3 separate regions of the Homo sapiens genome follow, and regions 1 and 2 are each linked to region 3. Evidence: promoter capture Hi-C in 16 types of primary human blood cells and fetal thymus (Javierre and others, 2016). All regions are on one chromosome and are shown on one strand. The core of a region is centred on a gene start or on the middle of the fragment in contact, and the rest is flanking DNA. Distances in the headings are between cores, read along the strand shown. Region 1 overlaps EPS15 (epidermal growth factor receptor pathway substrate 15). Region 2 overlaps OSBPL9 (oxysterol binding protein like 9). Region 3 holds the start of EPS15 (epidermal growth factor receptor pathway substrate 15).

What was found. The method cuts DNA at HindIII sites, captures the fragments that hold promoters and counts their contacts. A CHiCAGO score of 5 or more calls a contact.
Region 1: a contact is called between a fragment that was not itself captured here and the fragment with the promoter of EPS15 in region 3, in 1 of 17 cell types (megakaryocytes). The highest score is 5.1, in megakaryocytes.
Region 2: a fragment that was not itself captured here is called in contact with the fragment with the promoter of EPS15 in region 3 in 1 of 17 cell types (neutrophils); the score reaches 5.6 in neutrophils.

What each region holds. Positions count from the first base shown.
Region 1 is chr1:51,357,995-51,362,262 of GRCh38, forward strand. It overlaps EPS15 (epidermal growth factor receptor pathway substrate 15), which reads right to left. Exons shown (of 25, transcript NM_001981.3): 24 at 3,177-3,361. Among named protein-coding and RNA genes, the nearest start is that of TTC39A, 30 kb to the left of the region's middle. The HindIII fragment of the contact is 7,902 bases long and covers 1-4,268 here.
Region 2 is chr1:51,649,716-51,653,846 of GRCh38, forward strand. OSBPL9 (oxysterol binding protein like 9) reads left to right here. Exons shown (of 24, transcript NM_024586.6): 2 at 2,276-2,326. Among named protein-coding and RNA genes, the nearest start is that of OSBPL9, 35 kb to the left of the region's middle. The HindIII fragment of the contact is 8,753 bases long and covers 1-4,131 here.
Region 3 is chr1:51,516,858-51,521,038 of GRCh38, forward strand. It overlaps EPS15 (epidermal growth factor receptor pathway substrate 15), which reads right to left and starts at 2,409. Exons shown (of 25, transcript NM_001981.3): 1 at 2,342-2,409. The coding sequence starts at 2,374. EPS15-AS1 (EPS15 antisense RNA 1) reads left to right here and starts at 1,415. Exons shown (of 5, transcript NR_183651.1): 1 at 1,415-1,589. It also overlaps a transcript of OSBPL9 not described here. RefSeq lists an enhancer at 1,664-2,592 and silencers at 1,823-2,292, 2,443-2,632. The HindIII fragment of the contact is 8,390 bases long and covers 1-4,181 here.

The sequences.
Region 1 (4,268 bases), core at 1,100-3,599, 160 kb before region 3:
TCCCAAGAACCTAATCATATTTTATAAAAAGCATTTTGAGCCAGGCATGGTGGCTGACATCTGTAATCCTAGTTCTGTGGGTGTGGGCCAATTGCTTGAGCTCAGAAGTTCAAGAAGTTCATCTTGGCAACATGGCAAAACTCTGTTTTTACAAAAAAAATTAGCCAGGTGTGGTGGTGCACATCTGTAGTTCCAGCTACCTGGGAGGATCACCTGAGCCTGGGAAGTTGAGGCTGCAGTGAGCTGTGATCATACCACCGCTCTCCAGCCAGATCGACGGAGTGAGCCAAAAAAAATAAAAATAAAACAAAAAGCATTATGAAGATTTCTCCAGGCTTTGGGAACTTTTAGACCAGTCTAAATAAAATCTTAACACTCATAATTATTATGTTGGGGAAATATTTTTATCTACCCCAAACAGCAACCTTGGCAAATACTAAATTAAAAATTCTAATTGGTTTCAAGTCTTGTTACATAGAAAATCCTTCATGAAAGGATGAAATAAAATACACTGTCAGGCTTTTGAAATGGTAGTTTTTTTCCCTAGGGAATTAAGCAAAACTTTGAAACGTGTAATGCTTAACCACATCTTTCACAATGAAAAAAGAAGATGTTCTTATTATAAGCTGTTTTTTATTATACTATATTGAGATTTTGGAGCAAAATGCCTCAGCTGTTGTTCAAGACTCCTTCCAACCAGATTTGTTTTTTTTTGTTTTTTTTTTTTTTTTTGAGGCGGAGTCTCGCTCTGTAACTCAGCTTGAGGACAGTGGCACTATATCAGCTCCCGCAACCTCTGCCTCTGGGGCTTAAGTGATCCTCCCACCTCAGCCTCCCTAGCTGGGATTACAGGCATGCGCCACCATGCCTGGCTAATTTTTGTATTTTTAGTAGAGACGGGGTTTCACCATGTTGGCCAGGCTGGTCTCACACTCCTGACCTCAAGTGATCCGCCCGCTTCGGCCTTCCAAAGTGCTGGGATTACAGGTGTGAGCCACCCCGTCTGGCCCCAACAAGAGTTTGACTTGCTAAAACCATACTTAAGATATTAAATGCCACAAACTACCAGAGGGTTATTTTACACTAAGAGAATTATAACCTTCTAAAAAGGCCAATTTTTGATTCTCTGCTTGAAACAAATCAAATTCCATCTAATGAAAGTTAAGTCGGGCTGGATGCGGTGGCTCACCCCTGTAATCCCATCACTTTGGGAGGCCAAGGCATGCACATTGCAAGATCAAGGGATCGAGACCATCCCGGCCAACATGGTGAAACCCCGTCTCTACTAAAAACACAAAAATTGGCTAGGTGTGGTGGTGCGTGCCTGTAGTCCCAGCTACTTGGGAGGCTGAGGCAGGAGAATTGCTTGAACCTGGGAGGTGGAGGTTGCAGTGAGCTGAGATTACGCCACTGCACTCCAGCCTGGCGACAGAGCAAGACTCTGTCTTTAAAAAAAAAAAAAAAAAAAAGGAAAGTTAAGTAAGGCTGGGCGCGATGGCTCACACCTGTAATCCCAACACTTTGAGAGGCTGAGGCCGGTGGATCGCCTGAGATCAGGAGTACAAGACCAGCCTGACCAACATGGAGAAACCCCGTCTCTACTAAAAATACAAAATTAGCCAGGTGTGGTGGGTATGCCTGCAATCCCAGCTACTCGGGAGGCTGAGGCAGGAGAATTGCTTGAACCTGGGAGGTGAAGGTTGTGGTGAGCCAAGATCGCGCCTCCAGCCTGGGCAATAAGAGCAAAACTCATCTCAAAAAAAAAAAAAAATCAGTATAATTCTGGCACTCCATTTTTACAATATTCAAAATATTGATTCCTATTTTGCTCCTTCATAGTCAAGAGAAGCCACCAGAACTTAGAGTACAGATTCAAAAGCTGGGAGCTCAGTCGTCTTAGTTGCATGCAGATTCTTTTTTTTTTTGGAGACAGGGTCTGGCTCTGTCACCCAGGCTGAAGTACAGTGGCATGATCACAGCTCACTGCAACCTCCACCACCTCAGCCCCCCAAGTAGCTGGGACTACAGGTGCTTAAAGCACTTTGGCCTCTTAAAATGCTGAGATTACAGGCGTGAGCCACCACGCCCGGCCTGCATGCAGATTCTTGACTACCTCCCTTCTAACTAGAAACAGCTGCAGGAATAAAGCAATTGGTTGAATGGCCCAATGCTACACTGAGGAGGGAAATATTAGGCAGAGTTACCTGGCCACTAGATCTATTTCCAAAATCATCTCAAGGGCATAAGGTGATAAATAGAAGAAAATCTCTGTTTTATAGAACAGGCAATGATAACGAAGGTTATTTTGCCTGAAAAAACTGTGAAACTGAAAATTTGTTACCCGGTCTAAGAATTTTATTAAAAAATAACTTTTTTTACTGAATAATGATGGAATATATGACATTGCTTTATGTCTCTCTAGACTGATACCTCCATGGTTGGTTGCCCCATTTCTGTGATTTTATAGGCCCTGCTTATGCTGTTATCATGGCACCCTTCCACTGTTTCTAACGATCTTCCTATTTTAGACATCTCTGAAAGAACGCAGAGTAAACATGAGAAGTTAGTGAATTAGGGCCCTCCAAATAAAGATTGTTTAAATCCTGACAACCATTTATTTATTTATTTCATAAAACTGGCATTTACATTTTTAAAAAGCTACTGTGTAAGTTTAATAGTTTTACTTTCTATTCAAAGAATCTCTGGCTCTATCCTCTCATATAATATTTGCTGACTGGTCTCCAGAAATCATTAAAACTTTATACACAAACACACATACACAGCTGCAAATACACAAACTTATTACTGGCATTATTCATCTAGTGGGCAGAGAGCAATGACTCTGTAATTGTTCATTAAATCACCATCACCCATAACCATCCACAAAATAATAACTGTTAGGATTTTACTTACATTACCAAGACTAAGAGAAAGATTTACAAAACAACTTGTGTATATGACAAGAACTGGGACTACTAAAATCATCTGTGCGATGGAACAACCGTAGAACTGTCAAAACAGGATCAAACAGAGGTTTTGCTTGGGGGAAGAATGAAAGATCATTTTTAGTATCTTGGTAAATTTAGTTAAAATGATGCAAACTTGGCAGACTCCAAAATAATCTCTGAAAACTCTTTAAAGATTTCTCCCCCAAACAGCTCATTCACAGTACTTACAGCACTGAAGTTGGCAAAATTGCTTGGATCAGCCTCTTTATTGGTAGTGGTAGTAGCAGAAGTGAATGGATCACAAAATATTTCAGGATCTTTTTCTTTGGGGCTATCGTTGCCTGGGAAAGGCTGAAATGGATCATTCAGTTTAAAGGGATCAGGAGAATCCAATTTGTTGATGGATCTTTTCCCTGGATCAAAATCATTACAATTAATTCAACCAGTAAATACAGCAAATACAAGCACACAAGAACATGTACACAGATAGCATTAAAGTACTGTGGGTAGAGGATGATTGAGTACCTAAAACACATTCTGAATATTGTCTTAAATAGCTACACCAACAATTTGTCCTCAAATTCTTCACACATGATCTCTCAAATAGATTCCAGCTATGTGCAGCTAATGAAACAAATAGCAAAGTAAGGATGGGCCAGGAATCATATTTTTGTCCAAAGACTGAATCCCACCATCCCCTAGCCACACCCAAGCAGCATGTTCCCAAAAGGAGAGACGAATGGATTAAACAGAAGGAGAATAATAAAGAATAAAGACAGAAATGGCCTGCCTCTGCTGTTACAGCCCTCAGCCTGATAACAGTTATCCACTAGTGGCAGTAAGAGCAAATGACCTCTGAAAACTGGGAAAATTCTTCTGATTTTTCTCTAGTTCTACATACAATACCTAAGAGCATAAAATTTTTAAATTACCGTAGTAAAATGCTGCCAATTTTTTGTTATTTACTGTATTTCAAAATGAAGAAAAAATGTTTTGAAGCCCAGGGCCTAAATCTTTGCGGTTGCTGATCAAATAATCTCTGACCAAACAATAGTATTCTGTCCTATTAGTCACTCACTAATTCATTACCATTTTCAAACAAGTTCTCTAAGTCTTACTTAAACTTAGTACTTCTTGAAGAAAAGATAATAAAAATAGGGGTCAAAATATCTCCAAATATATTTTTTTCCTAAAATGCATAAGCTGGTAATAGCAATCATAACAACAGATTCCATCACTGTAGCTGCTTAGAAAAGATGCTCATATCTCAATGGATTCTTCCAATAATCCTGTGAAAGTAGGCAAAATTAGAATTACTGC
Region 2 (4,131 bases), core at 426-2,925, 130 kb after region 3:
ACGATTGTTTACATGTTAGTCTTTTTTTTTTTTTTTTTTTTTTACATTTTGCAAGAATCTAAGCCAGTTGTTTTGTAGAATGTCACACATTCTGGATTTGCGTGATTATTTCCTGGTTGTATTTGTTTTAATTATTTTCAGTTATCTCTCTTAGTTTTTTCTTTTTTGTTGTTGTTGAAAAAAGGGTTTTGCTCTGTCACCCAGGCTAGAGTGCAGGGGTGTGGTCATGGCTCACTGCAGCCTTGACCTCCTTGGCTCAAGCAGTCCTCCCACCTCTCAGCCTCCTGAGAGCTGGGACTATAGGTGTGTACCACCACACCTAGCTAATATTTTGTATTTTTTGTAGAGATAGAGTTTCGCCATGTTGCCCAGGCCGACCTCAAACTCCTGGGCCCAAGTGACCCTCTTGCCTTGGACTCCCAAAGTGCTGGATTAGGAAATTAGGAAACGACTAGGATTATAATTGGCCCTCTTAATGTTGTTTAATTTGTAACCCTAATAGTTGTATTACCACTGGGACCTGTCTTGCCTTTTTTCTGTTTACTGTAATTTTATTTAAAAAATTGTGTTATAGTAGAAGAGGATCAAGGATGAATATATTCTTACCTTGTTTGGGTTAATTTTGCATTCTAACCTCATCAGGGATTTTCAAATCTAATTATTATTTTTGTGTATTTCCTTTACACTTGAAGGGAAGATAAGTATAGGGTACAGTAAAAGGGCGACTAAATGCTTAAGGAATGTTTTCATCAACTGTTTTCTTTCACTGTGTTATTAGTAAAGAACTCTTTTCAACTCTGCTTGGTATTGAGAAATTTTTTTCCTAAAATATATGATTCCTGATATTTATAGTTAGAACAAAAAGAATACTCTGTTTAGTATCTCGGTAATCACTTCTGAACATGAATTCTTACGGCTCAAGACTTTGGATGTAGGGCATCTATAGTTTCATGTGGGATAATCATCTTTAAAACATAATCATTCAATATTGGCTTGTTTTGCTGCTTTCTCACACAGGTGGAGTACAGGAAAATACCAGTTGTTCAAGTATTAAGTATTTGTTCAACTTCCATTATTTGAGATGTTACTTTGTTGTATTGCACATGACTAATTTACTCTTAGGAATATTTACTGAATGTAAACATAGCACTTTTGCATAACATAGGCTTTGCTTGGCTCAGTTTAGTAAGAGACACAGAAAGGCTAAGTTACATTTCATCAGTAAATGTTTTTTGAGCACCTGATGTGTACCAGACACTGTTCTGAGGCATAAGTCAGATACAATTCCTACCCCCTAAGGTATGTGTAGTCTTGTGGGTGAAGTAAACCAGCAATTATAACACAGGGTGATGCATGCCACAACAGGGGAACACACAGAAGACTCTGGGAGCCCAGGGTGGAAATCTAAATCAGACAGAGCTAAGGTGCTTGGAATGACAACGAGGCAGAACATTTGGGTCAAGAAAATTCCAAACTGAGGGACATTGGATGAGAAGTCACAGAAGCAAAAAATGTTACCCATTTGGGGAATTGCAGAGGTAAAGCTAAAGCAATACTTCTTGAGGTATGGTCTTCTGTTTGCCTTTGTCATAATTATCTGGGGGCAGCTGGGTGCGGTGACTCACGCCTGTAATCACAGCACTTTGGGAGGCCGAGGTGGGTGGATCACCTGAGGTCAGGAGTTCGAGACCAGCCTGGCCAACATGGTGAAACCCCGTCTCTATCAAAAACACAAAAATTAGCCGAGCATGGTGGCGGGTGCCTGTAATCCCAGCTACTCTGGAGGCTGAGGCAGGAGAATCGCTTGAACCCAGGAGGCGGAGGTTGCAGTGAGCCAAGATTGAGACATTGCACTCCAGCCTGGGCGACAAAGCGGGACTCCATCTCAAAACAAAACAAAAAAAAATAATTATCTGGGAGTGATTCTTAAACCTCCAGGTGATTCTTAGCCTTCTAGGTGGTTCTCTGACTCTCTAAAGTATGAGAAACATTCGTACTTAAGGGAATGAAGAAGGAATGAAAATAATGATGTAATATATGTTACATTAAAGGTATGTGTAAAGTTCTATGATTAGGTTAATTTATATAGACTGTATGACATTTTCATTTAAAATCTGTTTATTTTCCTATCCATAAGTAATTTCTTTTTGGAAGAGAAATTGGCAGAAGGGATGGGTATTACTGTAAATCTTGTCCTTTTATCCCCAGATGATTCTAAAAACAATTTACCAGTCTGTTAATGTTTTATTCATTGAATGCTTTGTTTTTCTTTTAGTCCAAGGACAAAATGATGAGAGGCTCTCGCAGAGGATGTGTTAGACTCAGAGTGAGTATTTATTCATTTTTATGAAAATCAATTTTGACAGAAGAAAATTGTATTCTGATAGAATTATGGAAGTCTAAATTTAGTTTAGCTTCCTTACATAATTGTTGGGGCAGGTATCTAAGTCTCAGAGAGAAAATGTGATTTCTCCAAGTAACTGTTAGTCAGTATCAGAACCAGGACTAGAACTCAGTTATTTTGGCCCATGATTCAATGTTGTATTTATGACTTAATGCATGTTCTGATTTTCTTAAACCTCTACTTTACAGACAAGAGACAAGGGCTGGAAATTAAGTGAGTTATGGTGTTGGTGGTATATCAACAGTAGAAAAAATGGAAAAATCCCAACTGTTAGCTGCCGCTGCTTTGTTTTTCCTGTTCAGCACTATTTAATCATGGTATATATAGCAGTGCTGTCCAGTAGAAATACAATGTTAGCCACATCTATAATTTAAGATTTTCTAGTAAGCCACATTTCAAAAGTAAAAAGAAACAGGCAAAATTAATATTTTATCTAGGTCAGTATATCTGAAATATTGTTATTTTAACATGTGATTAATAAAAAAAAATTAAGATATTTTACAATCTTTCTTTCCATACTAACTATTCAAAATCCAGTGTGTTTTTTACACAAAGGGTACATCTCAATTAGGACTAGCTGTACTTCAGAGAAGGGGATCAATAGCCACATGTGACTAGTGGCTGCCTTATGGTGCAGACCTATAGCTTCATGCTGCTTTCAGTTTCCACCATTGTTCAAATAGGTAAAGGCAAGAAAGAATGCATGGCTAGGGATGCAGTTTCTAGTATCCCATTGTATATGAAGAAAAGTGGCCTCTATCATAACTAGGTTAATCAGCTTCTAGGAACCTTTTCTTCAGGACCCTGTTGACTTCTTTCTTCCACCTTTTTTTCTGCATCCTTACTTTTGAAGATGTGAATATATTTGGTAAACATATTATTGCCCTTGTTAACAGTCCTTGATAGAACTGGGAAATACCGCTGAGAAAGACACCAAATTATAATAGAAAAATCCTGGCACTGAGATAGGAGTAGGTATGGGAGATTTGCAGGATGGAAATGAGACAGGCTTGTTTCAATCAGATGGTATATATGTGATAGCACAAAGATTTTTAAAAATTCAACTTCTAGTTTTTGTTTTTTTTTTTCTAAAATTTTCCTTTGGTTTCTCTTTTGTCTGTTTGGTGTAATTACTTTTCTAAGCACTTGCTGTTGACCTCAGTCACCAGTCAGTCTGGTATTAACTGCTCTTTTGGCTTGAGATAAGTTCAGTAGTGAGACTTTAGCAGAACTGTCTTGACAGAGCACTGCAGTTGAATTCCATTTGGATTTAGGCCACTGTCTCATTGTTACAGTTAATCCACTGGTTTTGTCTGTCTTTATTTTTTTGTTTTTGCTTTTAAATGTAGCTTAATTAATTATTAACCCTTCTAACTACCACCTTAAGAAATAGAATTTTGTCAGCTATACCTGAAGCCTCTCCACGTGCCCCAATTAAATAAATTACATCCCTTATATGTCTCCTAAAGTAATCACTTCTTACATTTGGTTATAACTTTTTTACCCAAATGTGTATCCCTAAGTCCTATAGTTTTCTTACCTATTTGTTTAACTTGATGTCTTTTGTTTACAATTTGTCTGTTGAAGAATCTGGACCGGCTGGGTGCTGGAGCTCACGCCTTTAATCCCAACACTGGGAGACCGAGCGAGGCAGAGGATCATTTGAGCCCAGTAGTTCGAGACCAGCCTGGGAAACATAGTGAGATCCCCATCTCTACAAAAAATTT
Region 3 (4,181 bases), core at 1,159-3,658:
TTTCTTCCAGATAGGTACCATGGGAGAAAGATGGATTAAAAGATGTCCCTGCCCTGAATGAGCTCTCACTTGAGTATGCCTATGTCTAAATGTGTGTGCTGGGAGAGTGGGCAGGGTGGGGGGAACAGAGGATGACAAACGGGTCAGTAATGAATGTGAAACCAGGCTGCATTGTTATCTTAGTGTATTGGGCTCAGGCAGTTATAAAAAAATTAAATTAAATTTAAAAACCACAAATCTGCAAAGTTTTGAAGTAACAAGGAGGCACATTAGGGTATACTAGCAACTGGAAATGTTATTTTTTCGTGTGCCTTCGTAATCCCTCTTATTGCCTCTTCATGTTTTAAAATCAGAATATTCTGAATTTACTTATTTGAATTATCAATAAAAATTAACCACCAATGTATATTATCTCATATGTGAGGCACTGAAGGATAATAGCTACTACTGATTCCGTACTTACTGTGTACACATTAATACCTAAATATATAACCCAAGAACATATGTAAATTTTTTAAATGGCTATAAAACTGACAGAGCTTGAAGCAATTCTCCAGAGATGAATGATGTAAATAGAAGCTAAAAACATGGTATTACCCAGGGAGAGAATAAAGTATGCACACAACTGAGAAGCAATTTTACGGAAGTCTTTAAGAGCACAAAATCTTCAAGGGAAAACTCCTGCCAGAATTGGCCAACAGAGCCAGAAAACAACAGCCTGCCAACAGGGATCTTGTTTAATGCAAGTCACTAACTAGACTCACAGAAAGTGAATACCTAAAAGTCAGTGCTGTAGTTGTTCAAATTTGAGTTTTGGGAGGACCCTTCCAAACATACATAACCAAGACTAAACCACCACATTCCATGTTAAAGGGTTCTCTGCTTGTCAGAACAGGACAACCACCACCACCATCAAAAAAACTGGGAAATAGACTTTCCTTATGACACTTAGAATTCCTGCAAACACGGGTTAGTTATTTTACATGAAGCATGTACGTGACTCCTGGTTTCTGAGAAAACATTTTTTTCTCTCTATCCTACAGTGCTAGGCAAAGCACCCCAAAGCCTCTTGATTTTAAACACAGAAAACTCCACTGCCGAAATGTTTGCCCTATCCCAGCGCTAAAGCCTTAGAAGCACCGACGAATCTAGGCCAAGGAGTACAAGATGGCAGTGAGATACCACAATGCAGGCAAGGAAGACGGGATGGGCCCCAATCGGGAAGCACGCGCCACCAGCTCTGGAGAGAACCGTCTGAGGAGACGCGGGGGAGAGTTTGGGTCACAGGAGCAGGAAGGAACTGGCAGGTGTCTGTCACCTTATCATCCCGGACACCATGTTTACATTGTAATTGGCTTCTTTACAGAGAGGGAGGGACCAGGTTCCCAGTGTGAGTGATGTTTAGAGGTTTTCTGAGAAGCACAAGGACTGGACTTTGACAGGAAGCAACGAGGCAAGAGGGAAGCTCGAGAACAGGTTTTGCTGAGGATTCCCCCCAAGAAAAGTGCTCCCCGGGAGGCCGTTCCTGGCACCAAGACTGGCGGAGCCACCACACCCGTTAAAGGGATCCACCTGGACAGCGATCAGGCGTGAGCCCCCCGAGGGGAAGTTGAAGTGGAAGCAGACGTGGGTGGCAAAAGGCTGCATTGGGGGTCTGACCCAGAAGGAAACCTGATCAGGAGGGGGGAGAGGCTGAACGGAGGAAGGGGCCGGCAGAGTGGGTAGTTGAGTAGGATGAGACTTCTTTGGAGGCGAGGCTAACTACATTAAACTCTGGGAAGGGAGGGCTTCCGTCGGACCCTGGGAGAAAGGCAGGTCTGGAGAGGAAAGACTGGCTTGGGGGGCCTGCGCGTCCGGCTCTGGAAGGCAACTCCTACTGGGGGCGGCGCGCAGCCGGCCTGGCGGGCGAGCCTCGTGCGGCCCGGGGGTGCGGCCGGCCCGCGCGAGCTCAACAGGAGCTCACCTGGGATGCGTGCGGCCCTGTGGGAGGAAACTTCCTGGGTAGGTGAAAGCTGCCCCGCGGGAGCCGGCCCGGCACCGGCAGAGCGCGGCCGGGTCACAGTCCACTCGGCAGCGGCGCGGAGGGCGGCGAGGGCCGCGCGGGGCGGGGCAGGAGGCGCCCGACGACCCTGGGCGAGGTCGCGGCGGCCGCAGGGGGGCTCCGGCTCCGGAGGGCGCCCTCCCGCAGTCGCACCCGCTTTCCCTCACACACACCGGCCGCCCGGCCCACAAGCCAAGAAGCTGCCTGCTTGGCCCACAAGCCAAGAAGTCGGCGAAGCTGAGGGCGGTGGGGGAGGGGGCACCGGCCGGCCAAGCCCGGCGGACGGGCGTGTGGCGTTACCTGTGTCAGAGAGAGCTGGGCCGCCGCAGCCATGGTGTTTCCATCATGCAAGGGAGGGGAAGGAAGACGGGCTGACTGGGGCTCGGGGCGGGGAGGAGGCGGAGGGAGCGGCCGCAGGCGAGGCCGGGGCGGGCGGGCGGGCGTCTCCCCTAACTTCCACAACTTCCCTCCCCACGCCCGCCCCGCCCCGCCTGGCCCCGCCCGCCTGCCCGCCCGCCGGAGCCGGCCGCGGCGCCGCCCAAACCCTGGCGCCGGAGTCTCGGCCACCGGACCAGAGCCTGCCCCCGGGGCCGCCTTGGAAAACCCGGCGCGGACATAAAATTAAAGCGGACGGGCTGCGGAGGCGACTGCAGATTGACCTGTGAACTTCAGACAGGCCACCTACCTACGCTGAGCTCCTGCTTCTGAAAAATGGGGGAAATTGTAACTAGAGGCCCAGTTACTTACAAAGACTAAATGAGATAATGATAGAAAATAATAATGGCACTTTATATATGCCAGGCTCTGTACTAGACTCTTATTTTTTGAATTGTATGAATGAAGGAACTGAAACACAAATAAGTGTCTTACTAAGGTCATACAGCTAATTATATAGCTGAATTAGAATCCAAGTCTAACTGTAAATATTTAACCATCTGCTAGTATATTGGAAAAGAAGACATTAAGTCATTCCCTCCCACAGCCAAAATCCATTTGGAAAGGGGAAGCAAAAATGTATTTGCCTGGTGCCTGTCACATTTAGATTGTTTAACAAGGGAACGCTGGTGCCTGTAGCACTCCTAGCTTCTCCCATCATCCACTTAGCAAACTCCTCCTTCTTTCTCAGGACATAATTCAAGTTTCACCTCCTTTGCAAAGTATCTTTTTCTCTTCCTTATGTCAGAGTTACACACTCTCCTTTATAACCTTTCTTCTCTACCTTGTGAAGTCATCACCCTAATGACAGTTTACACCTATCTATCCCTCTAGATTAAGAGCTCCTCAATGGCAAGAACTGTTTTCAATATATTTCTATATCGTCAGACCCTAGCATTACAGTGCATGCTCAGTAAAGGCCTTCGTTCCTGCCTATATTAAACATAACACATCCTACACCTTCTGATGCTGCCAACCTTCAGTTGGAATACCCAGTTACTTGAAATTCATCTTCAAAGTCTCAGAGTATATACCACCTACTTCAAGAAGCCTTCTAGGAACTCCACACCCCACCTCTAAGTTGTTCTGATGTGACCGTTTTTATACTCTGCCTTATCTGTAAGCGTTAGTTGAGGGTTTGTCTCCACCTCACTGCACTGTAAAATCCTTGAGGACAAGGGGCTGACTCACTGCTTTATCTCCCTCATAGTTTAGCCTACCACAGAGGCCTCAATAAATGTATTTGCCCGAATTGGTCTTAATTTCTTAGTCACGATGGCTTCCCATTACAACAAACCACAACTCTATCAGGCCTACACCCATTACCATTATCATAGCAGTCCCCGTGGTAGGAGGGACAACTGAACAAGACCCAGGATGGAGTTAGCCCCACCTAAGTTTTTAGACTATTGCCTCCACAAGCAAACCATTCCAGAAATTTCCCAAGGAACTCCTAATTCTACTCAGACTCCTTCTGGCAAAGGCCAGCTAACAAGAGCAAGCCATATAGGTCTGGTGAGTAACCACTTATTCAAGAGCATCTTCCTTGGCTTCTTTTTTGCTGCTAATCTCTTTAACTGAAGAGAGAATAAGAGATACTGTTTTACATTACTTCACTTTGGTACACTTATCAGCCATAACCACAACCGGTGTTTCTACCGGTGTTTTCTACTTTATATTAGCACATTTGAGCTTCACAACTCTA